Linked DNA regions of Homo sapiens: regions 2 and 3 are each linked to region 1. The links are contacts of gene promoters, found by promoter capture Hi-C in human tissues and cell types (Jung and others, 2019). All regions are on one chromosome and are shown on one strand. The core of a region is centred on a gene start or on the middle of the fragment in contact, and the rest is flanking DNA. Distances in the headings are between cores, read along the strand shown.

Region 1 (4,773 bases), core at 1,273-3,772:
GGGACAGGTATTTCCTCAGCTGAGCTCAGGCAACACGGCAACCCATCTCAGCCTAGCTTCACTCCTGCCAAGCCCACCCCAACATCTCTCGTGCTCAGCCATCCCAGCCCCTCCCCTCTCTGGGCACCATCCCACCTCTCCCTGGGAGACTGGCCTCACCCAGCACTTCTCCCTCTCCCCACCCCTCCCTGCCTCCTACTCCTCCTCACTCCAACCTCACACCTCCCTTTACACCTGAGGGCCTTACCTCCCACCCCTGTCAACCTCTTCCCCAGCCTTGCCCCTCCCAGCGATTCCTCTCCACTCAGCCGGGCCCCTCCCTGTAAAGTCCACAGAATCCAGCACAGTCCTCCCCCAACGTCTCTGTTTCTGGAAGCCTCATCCCTCTTGCCTCCTGCTGCCCCCCCTTAATGCCACCCCCGCAGCCGAGCCTCCTGTTTGCGTCAGAGTTAAGGGTGAGATCCCCGCCCCCCCCCCCCCCCCCCCACTCCACTAGGCAAACCTTCCAGAGAAGCCCAACTTGGAGGATGTGAGGCGGGGTGGGGCGGGATGCTGGGGGGAGAAGAGAGAGGATAGAGGAGTCAGCCAAGAACACCCACGTCGGAACCTCCTCCAGTGCCACCTTTAAGAGCCCGGCTACTTAGAGCAGGGGGAGAGGTCAGTAGGGGGTCTGGACATTCAAGTTCTCCTCCCATTCCGTCCTCAGGCCTAGGCGGTGGGGGTCGCCTAGGGGTCTCCTTCACTTCCCTACTCCCCTAACTCCATAGGCCTGGAGGCTAGGGGATGGAGGAGTTGACCTTTGACTCTAGGGACCCTTCTTCCACCACCCCCAGCCCCGTCCAGCAGAAACGAGCTTAGAGAAAGTAGGCCCCTGTCCCTTTAAGAACACCCGCGTCCACGCCGGCCCAGCCCGGCCGGATTTGCACTCGGAAGCTGCCGCGGCGGGGAGCGGGCGGGCGGGGCAGGGTTTGTGAATGAATCGGCCGAGGGGGAGGGGAGGGAGGAGGAGGGGCGGCGGGGGCGGTTCCCGGCTCCCCGGCCTGCCCACCCTGTGTCCAGGCAGCAGGAGTTCAGCACACGCACGCTTCCTGTCGCCCGAGGTCTCCCGAAGCCTGCAGTCTCAGGCTTGGCAGACACACCCCTTCCCCCACCCCAGCCTTCTTGAAATGGGTGGGAGTGACGGGGGGACCCCAGTCCTTAAGAACCAGGGGTTCAGAGCTCTGTAGGCGTGGAACGGCGGTCCACATCCACCCCTGCCGCCCAAGGTCTCCCAGAGTTTGATTTCTCAAACGGGAGTGCCCAGAACGCCTGGGTTCGGTTGGGCTGGCTTCCCCACGACCCCAGAGCCATAAAGGTGTGGGGTGGGGGGTCATGCCCCTCCCACGTCTCCCTCCCTCCTCCAACCCCAACGCAGAGCGTGGGCCTGGGCGTGGGCCTCTGTGCAGATGGCGTTCTGGCCCCAAAATAGCTCCCCCCCCACCTCACGTCTCCCTCCCTCCCTCTCTCCAGTGCAAAGTGGGTGAGGTGAGGATGGGCCAGGAGGGGGACCAGGAGACATTGCTCTTCCAAGAAGTAGGCTCCCTGCCGAGAAGGCCCTGAAACGTGTTTGGGAGAACCGGAGGGGGCAGGGAGCGGGAAGACCTTCTGGACATTCCTCCAACCCCCTCACTCGGGAGGCCAAAGAGTTAACTGGAAAAGCGCCCCCAGACCTCCAGTCACAGCCCTCTCTGGACGCTGGGAGGGGTCTCCTGTCTCCACACTCCCCCCACTCCAGTCCTCTTTACACCTAGGGCTGGGAGAGTCCTAGAACTCGTGGATGCCCTGATGGCCAAGCCCCTCTACCTATATCTTACATCCCCACGGCTTGGAGAACCCTCCCACCGCACTCTCCTTCGAATTTCCAGCCGGGTCCGCGTCCATGAGGACCCGTAACCCAGCCCACAACACCAGACCCCTTCCAAGCACCCCTGCAGGCTTCAATCAAACTACCGAGCCCAGACTCTTCCTCACTGACCCTCTAAAAACCTGGTCTACACAGACGCCCCAGTCTAGATCGTTTCCGGGTAGAACCCCGGATACCCGTCCACGTCCACACGGGCCTCCGCGTTCAGCCGCGTCCACACGACCCCTCCAGCAGCGGCCACCAGGACCCCCGAGAGCCCTGCCGCGTCTACACGGATCACCCCCTCCGGGGCCCAGCTGCGTCGACAAGGGCTACCCCTCTCAAAAGTCCAGCCACCTGGACTCGGGTCACCCCCCAGGAACCCCCTGGGAGCCGCATCCACGCGGACCCCGACCCCAGCCCGCGTCCACACGGGTCCCCCGACCCCCAGCCTCGCCTCCTACCTCCAACGCAAAGCAGAGACATGTCTCCGAGCTCGCAGGTGGGCCGGAGGCGGCCGGGCCGGCTCTGTCGGGTCGGGCTCAGCGGCCGCTGGGCTGGGGCATCTCCCGGCTGCAGCCCGCGCTTGGCTCACGCCGGGGCCCGGCCGCCACCGGCCATCTTGGTTCAGCACCGGGGGCGCGGACAGCGCCTGACGTGGCGCTGATGCGGGGCGGGCAGGCGGAGCCCAGGGACGCCTGATGGGGCGGGGGCGCTGCGGGCTGGGGGGGCGTTAAAGGGCCTGGCTCCGGGAAGGGGCGCCTCGCCCCACACCTCCTCGTTGCAGGGGGACAAGGGGCGACGGCGGCCCCCAAGCAGGTTTCCTCCTGTGCAGACCCTCACCTGCACTGAAATGGTGCACGTGCCCCCGCCACCCATGCATGGACATTCCTGCCCTGGTAACCTGGGCAAACGCCTCCCTGCAATACTCAAGCAAGTACAGGCAAATGCAAGCTCTTGTGTGTACGCCCGGCACCAGCACCGGGCAGATGGTCCTGTTCTCTGAGTATCTCTCTTCCTCTGTCTCTACGTCTCTGTCTCTCTAACTCTACTGCCTGGTCTCTTTCTCTCCCTGGGTCTCTGTTCCTCTGACTCTGTCCACTGCTCTCTCAGTCATGTGTCTCTTAGCCTCTCTCTGTAAAGTCTTTTTGCAGCTCTACTGCATCCTGTCTAGGTCTCTCTCTATGTCTCTAAGCCATCCAGCCCATGGGTCCTTGCCCACACTCTGAACTCCTTTTCATCCATCAATGTCTTGTCTGAATATCCTCTCCTCCAGGAAGGCTTCCCTGACTGCCCCAAGCTGAGCCTTTGTTTCTCCTCTCTGGACTCCCCCAGCCCCTATCCCTTCCTCTGATTGGGCCCTGACCCGAACGAAACTCTGCCACTCCTCCCCACTTTTCTTTTTTTTAGATGGAGTCTCCCTCTGCAGCCCAGGCTGGAATGCAGTGACGCAATCTTGGCTCACTGCAACCTCTGCCTCCTGGGATCAAGAGATTCTCCTGCCTCAGCCTCCCCGAGTAGCTGGGACTACAGGCGCATGCCACCATGCCCAGCTTTTTTTTTTTATTTTATTTTTTTTATTTTTAGTAGAGACGAGGTTTCACCATGTTGGCCAGCCTGGTCTTGAACACTTGACCTCAGGGGATCCGCCCATCTCGGCCTCCCAAAGTGCTGGGATTCAGACCTGAGCCACTGCGCCTGGCCCCCTCCCCACATATCAAACTGGGCAGCTCCATGTGGGCCCCTTGCCCTGCAACCTGCTCGCTGTATCACTGGCACCTAAACTAGCATGAAAGGCTGAGCCCCACAGGGTCTCCTGCCCCCAGCCCACATGAAAGAGCTTCATAAATGCAGAATGTGCATGGAGTTGAGTGAGGCCATTGTTCAAAACCAAACTCTGTCTCTCATCACAAGCATGGCCTTGGGCAGGTCTTGTGACCTCCTCGTGCCTCAGTTTCCGCACCTGTAGAATGAATATGATAACAAGTCCTGCCTCACAAGGTTGCTGGAGGTATTACATGAGTTAACATGTGAAACCAGTTGTAATTTTTTTTTTTTTGGAGGTGTAGTCTCAATCTGTGGCCCAGGCTGGAGTGCAGTGGCACCATCTCAGTTCACTGCAACCTCAACCTCCAAGTGATCTTCCTGCCTCAGCCTCCTGAGTAGCTGGGATTACAGGCGCTCGCCACCACATCCAGCTAATTTTTTTGTATTTTTTGTAGAGATGGGGTTTCACCATGTTGGCCAGGCTGGTCTCAAACTCCTGACCTCAAGTGATCCACCCACCGTGGCCTCCCAAAATGCTGGGATTACACGAATGAGCCACCGCGCCTGGCCCCAGTTGTAATCTTAATGCCTAATAGTAACCATGTTTGTATCTGTCACTGCTTTAAATTTTTAAAAAAATCAGCACAGCTAATTTTTGTATTTTTTGTAGAGACAGAGTTTCACCATGTCGCACAGGCTGTCTCAAACTCCTGGGCTCAAGTGATCCTCCCGTCTCAGCCTCCCAAAATGTTGGGATTACAGGCTCATGAGCCACCATGCCTGGTCTTAAATTTTTATTAAACATCAATGAGTAGATGTTTTATTAAACATTGATAATCAATAAAACATTGATGTTTTATTAAACATCAATGAGTAGATAAACTATGAGGAGCAGGCTTGGATAAAAAAAATTACCATCGACCGGGCTCGGTGGCTCACGCCTATAATACCAGCACTTTGGGAGGCTGAGGCGGGGTGATCACAAGGTCAGGAGATCGAGACCATCCTGGCTAACACGGTAAAACCCGTCTCTACTAAAAATACAAAAAATTAGCCGGGCGTGGTGGCGGGCGCCTGTATTCCCAGCTACTCAGGAGGCTGAGGCAGGAGAAAGGCGTGAATCC
Region 2 (4,773 bases), core at 738-3,237, 54 kb after region 1:
AGACTTCATCTCAAAATAAATAAATAAATAAATAAATAAATAAATAAATAAATAAATAAAGTGTCGTCCTGTCCACCAGCACATCTTCCTGTTGTATTTCCTTTTAATCCATAGCCCTAGCAGACTCTTACTTGTTTATATGTTTATATGTCAATATGTTTATATTGATTCCCCCAACTGTGAGCCCATGAGAGCTGCACCCTCTCCATCTTGGTTGTTTCTGGGTGCCCGCTGCCCAGGACAGGACCCAGTACCTGTACCCACACACCAGGTTCTTGGGAAATGTTGGTTGTGCCCCAGCTTGGCAGCACTGCTGGGTGACCTCGGGAATGTTCCTTAACCTCTCTGGGCTTCTCCTCTTCCCCAGTCTCAGAAATAAGAAAGTTGGCCTGAACCTCCAGGAAGAGCAGGGAGCCTTGGGCTGTTTTGGCAACTGGACCCCTGAGTTTTCTTCCCTGGCCTGTTCGGCCCCAGGCACTCCAGACAGGCCTGACCTATGTCATCCTGTCCTCCCCACCCCCTACAGCATCCTTTGGGATCTGGGCCCAGGGCAGGTGTGAGCTGTGGTACCAGCACACCCATGTCAAGTCCTGCCTCTGACGTGTGTTTGCTGTGTGACTTCCAAGAGTAGCTTGCTTTCTCTGAGCTCTGTTTCCCCTGGCCCAGGCTTGGGAGTGGAGTGTCTGGGGGAGTGTGGATGCAGTTCAGACCTCACCTGACAGGTGTGGATAGTACCAGGGCCAGGGCCCCCAAGAAGCTCCCAGGCTGGAGGGGGAGGGGGCAATGCCTAACATAACATCCCAGTCCTGGGGGATCAGCACTGGCTTGGAAGGAAAACCAGATGGGTTTTCAGGAGCCTGGGAAGCTAGCTGGAGGGCTTCTTGAAGGAGAGGACCACATAGGAACTAAGAGCTAAAGGTGGGAAGGAAATCTGGGATGCCAGAAGGAGGACTTCCTGGAGGAGGGGACCACATAGGAACTAAGAGCTAAAGGTGGGACGGGAGCCTGGGAGGCCAGAAGGAGGGCTTCCTGGAGGAGGGGACCACAAGAGCTAAAGGTGGGAAAGGAGCCTGGGAGGCCAGATGGAGGGCTTCCTGGAGGAAGGGACCATAAGAGCTAAAGTTGGGAAAGGAGCCTGGGAGGCCAGATGGAGGGCTTCCTGGAGGAGGGGACCAAACAGGAACTAAGAGCTCAAGGTAGGAAAGTTACCAGTCAGATGCACCCTGAGGTGGAACGGCTTTTGTGCCCCCTGCATTGAGGTGGGTAGAGAGAGGTGAGGACAGGAATGTAGGGAGGGCCGGACCCCATAAGCATGATGGGCTGCTGAGACAGGTTTGCAGTTTTTACCAAGAGTGCTGGGGAGTCTGGGGAGTGTTTCAAGCTGGAGAAAAAGGTGAGCAGTTTCTGTTTGAAACCCCACTGTGGGTCCCAGTTAAACATTCTGGAATTGCTACACACATGCACTTCAATGGAACAGCTGAGCACGTGAAGGTGATAGGACAGGCAAGCCTCAAAATTGGGGCTTAGTCTGAGAGGGTTCTTGGCTTCACCCAGGAAGGAATTTGAGGGCAAGTCAATTGTGTTAAACAGCAACTTTTCTTTTTCTTTTTTCCTTTCTTTTTTTTTTAAGATAGGGTCTCACTCTCATGCCCATGTTGGAGTGCAGTGCCATGATCTTGGCTCATTGCAGCCTCCAGGAGTCCTCCCACCTCAGCCTCCTGAGAAGCTTGGACCACAGGCACAGTCCACCATGCCCACCTAATTTTTTTTTTGAGATGGGGTCGTCTTGCTCTGTCACCCAGGCTGGAGTGCAGTGGCATGATCTCCGCTCACTGCTCCCTCTGCCTCCTGGGCTCAAGGGATCCTCCCACCTCAGCCTCCCAAGTAGCTGGGTCTACAGGCACAAGCCATGGAGCCCAGCTAATTTTTTGTATTTTTGGCACAGGCAGGGTTTCACCATTTTGCCCAGGCTGGTCTCAAACTCCTGAGCTCACGTGATCTTCCCACCTGGGCCTCACAAAGTGCCAGGATTGCAGGTTTGAGCCACCGCACCTGGCCTAATTTTTGTATTTTTTTTTTTTTTTTTTTTTTGTAGAGATGGGGTTCGGCCATGTTGCCCAGGCTGGTAAACAGCAACATTTTCTTCTTCTTCTTTTTTTCTGAGATGGAGTTTAGCTCTTGGAGTGTGATGGCATGATCTTGGCTCACTGCAACCTCTGCCTCCTGGGTTCAAGCAATTCTCCTGCCTCATCCTTCCAAGTAGCTGGGATTACAGGTGCCTGCCCCCACACCCAGCTAATTTTTTTGTTCTTAGTAGAGATGGGGCTTCATCATATTGGCCAGAATGGTCTTGAACTCCTGACCTCAGGTGATCCGCCCATCTCAGCCTCCCAAAGTGCTGGGATTATAGGTGTGAGCCACCATGCCTGGCCTTTTCTTTCTTTCTTTTTTTTTTTTTTTAGACAGGGTCTCGCCTTGTCACCCAGACTGGAGTGCAGTGGCACCATCTCGGCTCATTACAACCTCCACCTCCCAGTATCAAGTAAATCTCGTGCCTCAGCCTCTCCAGTAGCTGGGACTACAGGTGCCCACCGCCAGGTCTGGTCTGGCTTTTTTTTTTTTTTTTTTTTTGAGACAGAGTCTCGCTGTTGCCCAGGCTGGAGTGCAGTGGTGTGATGATAGCTCACTGCAGCCTCCAACTCCCTGACTCAAGCAATCCTCCAGCCTCAGCCTCCCGAATAGCTGGGATTATAGGCATGAGCCACCATGCCCAGCTAATTTCTGTATTTTTAGTACAGACAGGGTTTCTCCATGTTGGCCAGGCTGGTCTCGAACTCTTGACCTCAGGTGATCCACCCATTTCAGCCTCCCAAAGTGCTGGGATTACACCGCGCTTGGCCCTAAACAGCGGCATTTACTGAAATGGCCGTGTAGAGCAGCATCAGAGGTGCTGTTCCTTGCTGAGCAAGACCACTGTGCATAGGCAGTCCATCCAGAATAGTAGCTCACAGGCACAGCTGCACTCATATGTATACCCACTTTTAATTATATGCAAATGAAGGCCAGGCGTGGTGGCTCAAGTCTGTAATCCCAGCGCTTTGAGAGGCTGAGGCGGGTGGGTCACCTAAGGTCAGGAGTTTGAGACCAGCCTGGCCAACATGGTGAAACCCCGTGTCTACTAAAAATACAAAAATTAGCCAGGCATGGTGGTGTGCGCCTGTAATCCCAGCTACTCAGGAGGCTGAGACAGGAGAATCGCTTGAACCCAGGAGGCAGAGGTTGCGGTGCGCTGAGATTATGCCACTGCACTCCAGCCTGGGCAACAGAGCAAGATACCATCTCAAAAAAAAAAAAAAAAAAAAAAAAAAAAAATATATATATATATATATATATATATATATGTATATATATGCAAATTAAGGGGCAGTGTATGCAGAAACTTCCAGGAAAAGGGTGACAACTTCTGAGTCATCAGGGTTGTTGCCATGGAAAAGGGTGGTAACTTCTGCATGTTGTCATGGCAATGGTAAACTGACATGGCACACCAGTGGGCATGTCTTAAGGAAAGCCCCTTCCCTGGGGGTCTGTTTTATAATAGCTAGTCCTCAATTTGGTCCAATGTCGCAGCCCCACCTCTGGAGTTGAGTCCTGCCTCCTACTTTGGAGGGCTGACAGTGGGAGCCAGGTTTCTCAGGGATAAAGTAGAAGATCACAGACAGGCAAGGGGAGGAGGCTGAGCTCATGTTCAACCCAATATAGATAGTTACAGCAAAATATGTACAGATATGTGTATATACATATATACACACATACAGCTCCCTGCTCTGTCTGCAGACAGGGCCTCCAAGACACGTCACCCCAGTAACAAGTACACATTGGCCGGGTGTGGTGGTTTATGCCTGTGATCCCAGTACATTGGGAGGCCGAGGCAGGAGGATAACCTGAGGTCATGAGTTCACGACCAGCCTGGCCAATATGGTGAAACCCCGTCTCTGCTAAAAATATAAAACTTAGCTGGGTGTGGTCGTGGGCGCCTGTAATCCCAGCTACTAAGGAGGCTGAGGCAGGAGAATTGCTTGAACCTGGGAAGCGGAGGTTGTTGCAGTGAGCCGAGATCACGCAACTGCACTCCAGCCTGGCAACAGAGCGAGACTCTGTCTCAAGAAAACAAAGAAACAAAAAACAAACAAACAAAACAAAAACTAAAAAAAGCCCCCAAACCTGACAGATGCCATTCGGCCAGGAAATCAAGGTCAACACCAGCAGAGTAAGTCATGTTGACAGTTTGTACCTTTGATATGGTGTGATGAGATGGGTGCTTCACCTCTGTGGTCTTCCTTCCCCAAATCCATTACCCTCATTTAACTGTGAGAAAGACATCAGAGAAACCTCAATGGAGGGACATTCTGTAGAACACCTGACCACCATTCCTCAAAACTGTCCCCGAAAACAAGACAGTTTGACAAACCGTCACACCCCAGAACAGCCTAAGGAGACATGAGGAGTAAGTGTCATGTAAGATTCTAGGACAGAAAAAAGACATTGCAACCAATGGCCATACCAGTGGAAGGTGATAATCATGTGGGAGGCGGGCCGGGCGCACTGGCCCACTCCTGTAATCCCAGCACCTTGGAAGGCCGAGGCAGGCAGATCACCTGAGGTCAGGAGTTTGAGACCAGCCTGGCCAACATGACGAAACCCCATTTCTACTAAAAATACAAAAATTAGCTGGGTGTGGTGGTGGGTGCCTGTAATCCCAGCTACTCGGAAGGC
Region 3 (2,500 bases), core at 1-2,500, 41 kb before region 1:
CTTGTCCTTTGCCTGCAAGCCCTGGGCGCAGACCACTGGAAGACACAGAGGGCATACACAGGTGTGCACTCAAGAAGCGAGGCATGCTGGGGACAGTCACTGCCACACGCTGCAGGCTGATAATTGGGACACCTGCAGCATGGCTGGAGAGCAATGGCAGGGCACGCTGGGCTTGCCAGAGAGGTTTTTTGTGTGTTTGTTTGTTTGTTTGTTTGTTTTTGAGACAGAGTTTTGCTCGTCACCCAGGCTGGAGTGCAACCTCCGCCTCCCGGGTTCAAGCAATTCTCCTGCCTCAGCCTCCCAAGTAGCTGGGATTACCCGCACGTGCCACCCCATCCGGCCAATCGTTTTGCATTTTTAGTAGAGATGGGGTTTCACCATGTTGGCCAGGTCGGTCTCGAATTCCTGACCTCAGGTGATCCGCCTGCCTCAGCCTCAGCCTCCCAAAGTGCTGGGAAGGAGTCCCCAAACCATGAAGGATGGGAAGGTGCCCCAGCTGCCTTGCGCATGGGTAGGACCTCTCTCAGGTGTGAACTCCCTGAGGTCAGACACTTACAAGAACCCATTGCCCCCCGAGATCTCCTGCTCGTTGGTGCCCCCTGCAGGGTTCCTTCCCTCCCTGACTTACCACCCCAGCTCCGTCCTGGGGTCACTTCCTGGATAACCCACATAACCTGAAATCCTCATCCTCAGGTCTGTTTATGGGGAAACCCACATGAGGCTGGGTGTGGAGAAAAGCCAGTATCCTCGCCCCTAAGTGGGGCCACACTGAGCTGCATGCTCGACATTGTCCCCAGTGGCCCCAGGATGGGCTGACCCCCTTGCCCACAGCATTGTCTGCTCAACGGCATCTCCTTCAGGACTCCTTCCATCCCTGTCTCAAGTCCTTGCCCCTCACCAGGACTTTCTGGGGTCACTTTCCAGATAAACCATGCACCCTCAATTCCTCTTCTTGGAGTCTCATTCTGGAGGGCACCATCCAAGACGCACCCAGATACAGTGCCATGAACAGGCGTTTGGAGGCACGCATGTCCCCCCATATGCGTGCACACACGGAGATGAGATGGAATGCACCCGACCGAGTGAGTGCGCGCTGCAAAGGAGAGGGACCAGGCCATGGGACAGGGCATGAGACAGGTCTCAGAGGGTGGAGAAGGAGGGGCCCTATGGCGGCCCACGCCCCCTCACCGGTGATGCTGATCTTGGCGGACCACTTGGACGTGCCGTCCAGCACGCTCTGCTTGACCGCCTTCATCTGCTGCGTGTGCGCCGTCTTGGTCACCGCGAAGATCTCCTGGATGAGCTCGAAGATCTCGGGCTTGTTGCGCTCCCGGATCTTCATGCGGTCCTTGAGCACCATGATGATGTTCTGTGTCCGGTCCTCCGCCCCGTGCTTGGAGCTCTTCTCCGCAGCCCCTGAGGACGCCCGAGGCCGGCGCTGACCCCAGCGCGCCCTGCATAGTGGCCCCTCACCAAGGCGAGAGCCCCGCCCCTACTCATCAACCGGGGGGACTCAGGTGTCACCCCCTGAAGCCGGTTTCCTACCTGCTTTCTGTACCCCCCACCCAGACCCTTCACCCTTCCACCTCCTCTCGGAGCCATGCTCCTCTGAGTCGCCATGTCCCTGCGTCCTGCCCTTCTCTGCCCCGCACCCCTTGGAGTCCCCACTGGTTTTTGGAGCCCCACCCCTCTAAGGCCTCTTCCCTAAGCCCCACCCCTCTGAGTCCCCGCCCCCTCTGCGTCCCACCCCTCTGAATCTCCGCCCCCTCTCTGAGTCCCACCCCTCTGAGTCCCGCTGCCTCTCTGAGCCCCACTCCTCTGAATCCCCTCCTCGTCTCTGATCTCCACCCCTGCGAGTCCCCTCCACATTCCTGAGCCCCTTCCATCTCTCAGACCCCTCCCTTTCTCTTGGTCCCACCTCCTCTGAGTCCCCTCCCCCTTCCAATCCCCCCCTCCACAGTCCTCTCGCAGTCTGAACCCCTTCCCTCTCTGAGCCCCTCTTCCTCTCAGAGCTACCCCTAGCTAACCCATTTTATCCAGGGGAGCTGCCTCTTCTCACTAAGCCTGTCCTTTGCACAACCTAGCTAGTCCCTGAGCCCTGCCCCACCCCTCTCTGACACCCTCACAGCTTCTTTCCCCACCCCTCGACCCCCTAGCCCTTCCACCAGGGAGTCCTGCGCCTTTAACCCCACCCCTCCCTTTCAGCGAGTCCCTCCCCTGCCTCACGACGCCCCGCCCCTTGCCCCGCCCCATGGTGCCCCACCCATCGCCTTGCCCTTCAGCCTTTCCCCGCCATGCAAGCCCCGGGGCTCCCCACGCCAACCCGTGGCCCTGCGCTCAGGCCCTGCGCTCACGCTGCAGGCAGTCGGCGTTGAGCAGGTCCTGGCACTTCTCGTGGCACTTGACACCGCACTCGGTGCAGCGCATGCCCTGCCTCGCGATGCCCCACAGCAGCCCCTCGCACTCGTAGCAGTAGGTGGGCGTGGTGGCCGTCCACACT

What was found. Contacts are between HindIII fragments. The study calls those that stand out against the background at their distance.
Region 2: a fragment that was not itself captured here is called in contact with the fragment with the promoter of UNC13A in region 1 in 1 of the 25 tissues and cell types used here (mesenchymal stem cells).
Region 3: a fragment that was not itself captured here is called in contact with the fragment with the promoter of UNC13A in region 1 in 4 of the 25 tissues and cell types used here (bladder, mesenchymal stem cells, small bowel and 1 more).

The regions. Positions count from the first base shown.
Region 1 is chr19:17,685,832-17,690,604 of GRCh38, forward strand. UNC13A (unc-13 homolog A) reads right to left here and starts at 2,523. Exons shown (of 44, transcript NM_001080421.3): 1 at 2,347-2,523. The coding sequence starts at 2,368. RefSeq lists enhancers at 703-1,664, 1,665-2,625 and a silencer at 1,859-2,041. The HindIII fragment of the contact is 19,419 bases long and covers 1-4,773 here.
Region 2 is chr19:17,740,563-17,745,335 of GRCh38, forward strand. The region is part of intron 3 of FCHO1-AS1 (FCHO1 antisense RNA 1); the gene reads right to left. Among named protein-coding and RNA genes, the nearest start is that of FCHO1-AS1, 8.4 kb to the right of the region's middle. RefSeq lists an enhancer at 3,298-3,592. The HindIII fragment of the contact is 3,992 bases long and covers 1-3,983 here.
Region 3 is chr19:17,646,077-17,648,576 of GRCh38, forward strand. It overlaps UNC13A (unc-13 homolog A), which reads right to left. Exons shown (of 44, transcript NM_001080421.3): 16 at 2,355-2,500; 17 at 1,189-1,416; 18 at 1-35. Among named protein-coding and RNA genes, the nearest start is that of UNC13A, 41 kb to the right of the region's middle. The HindIII fragment of the contact is 7,628 bases long and covers 1-2,500 here.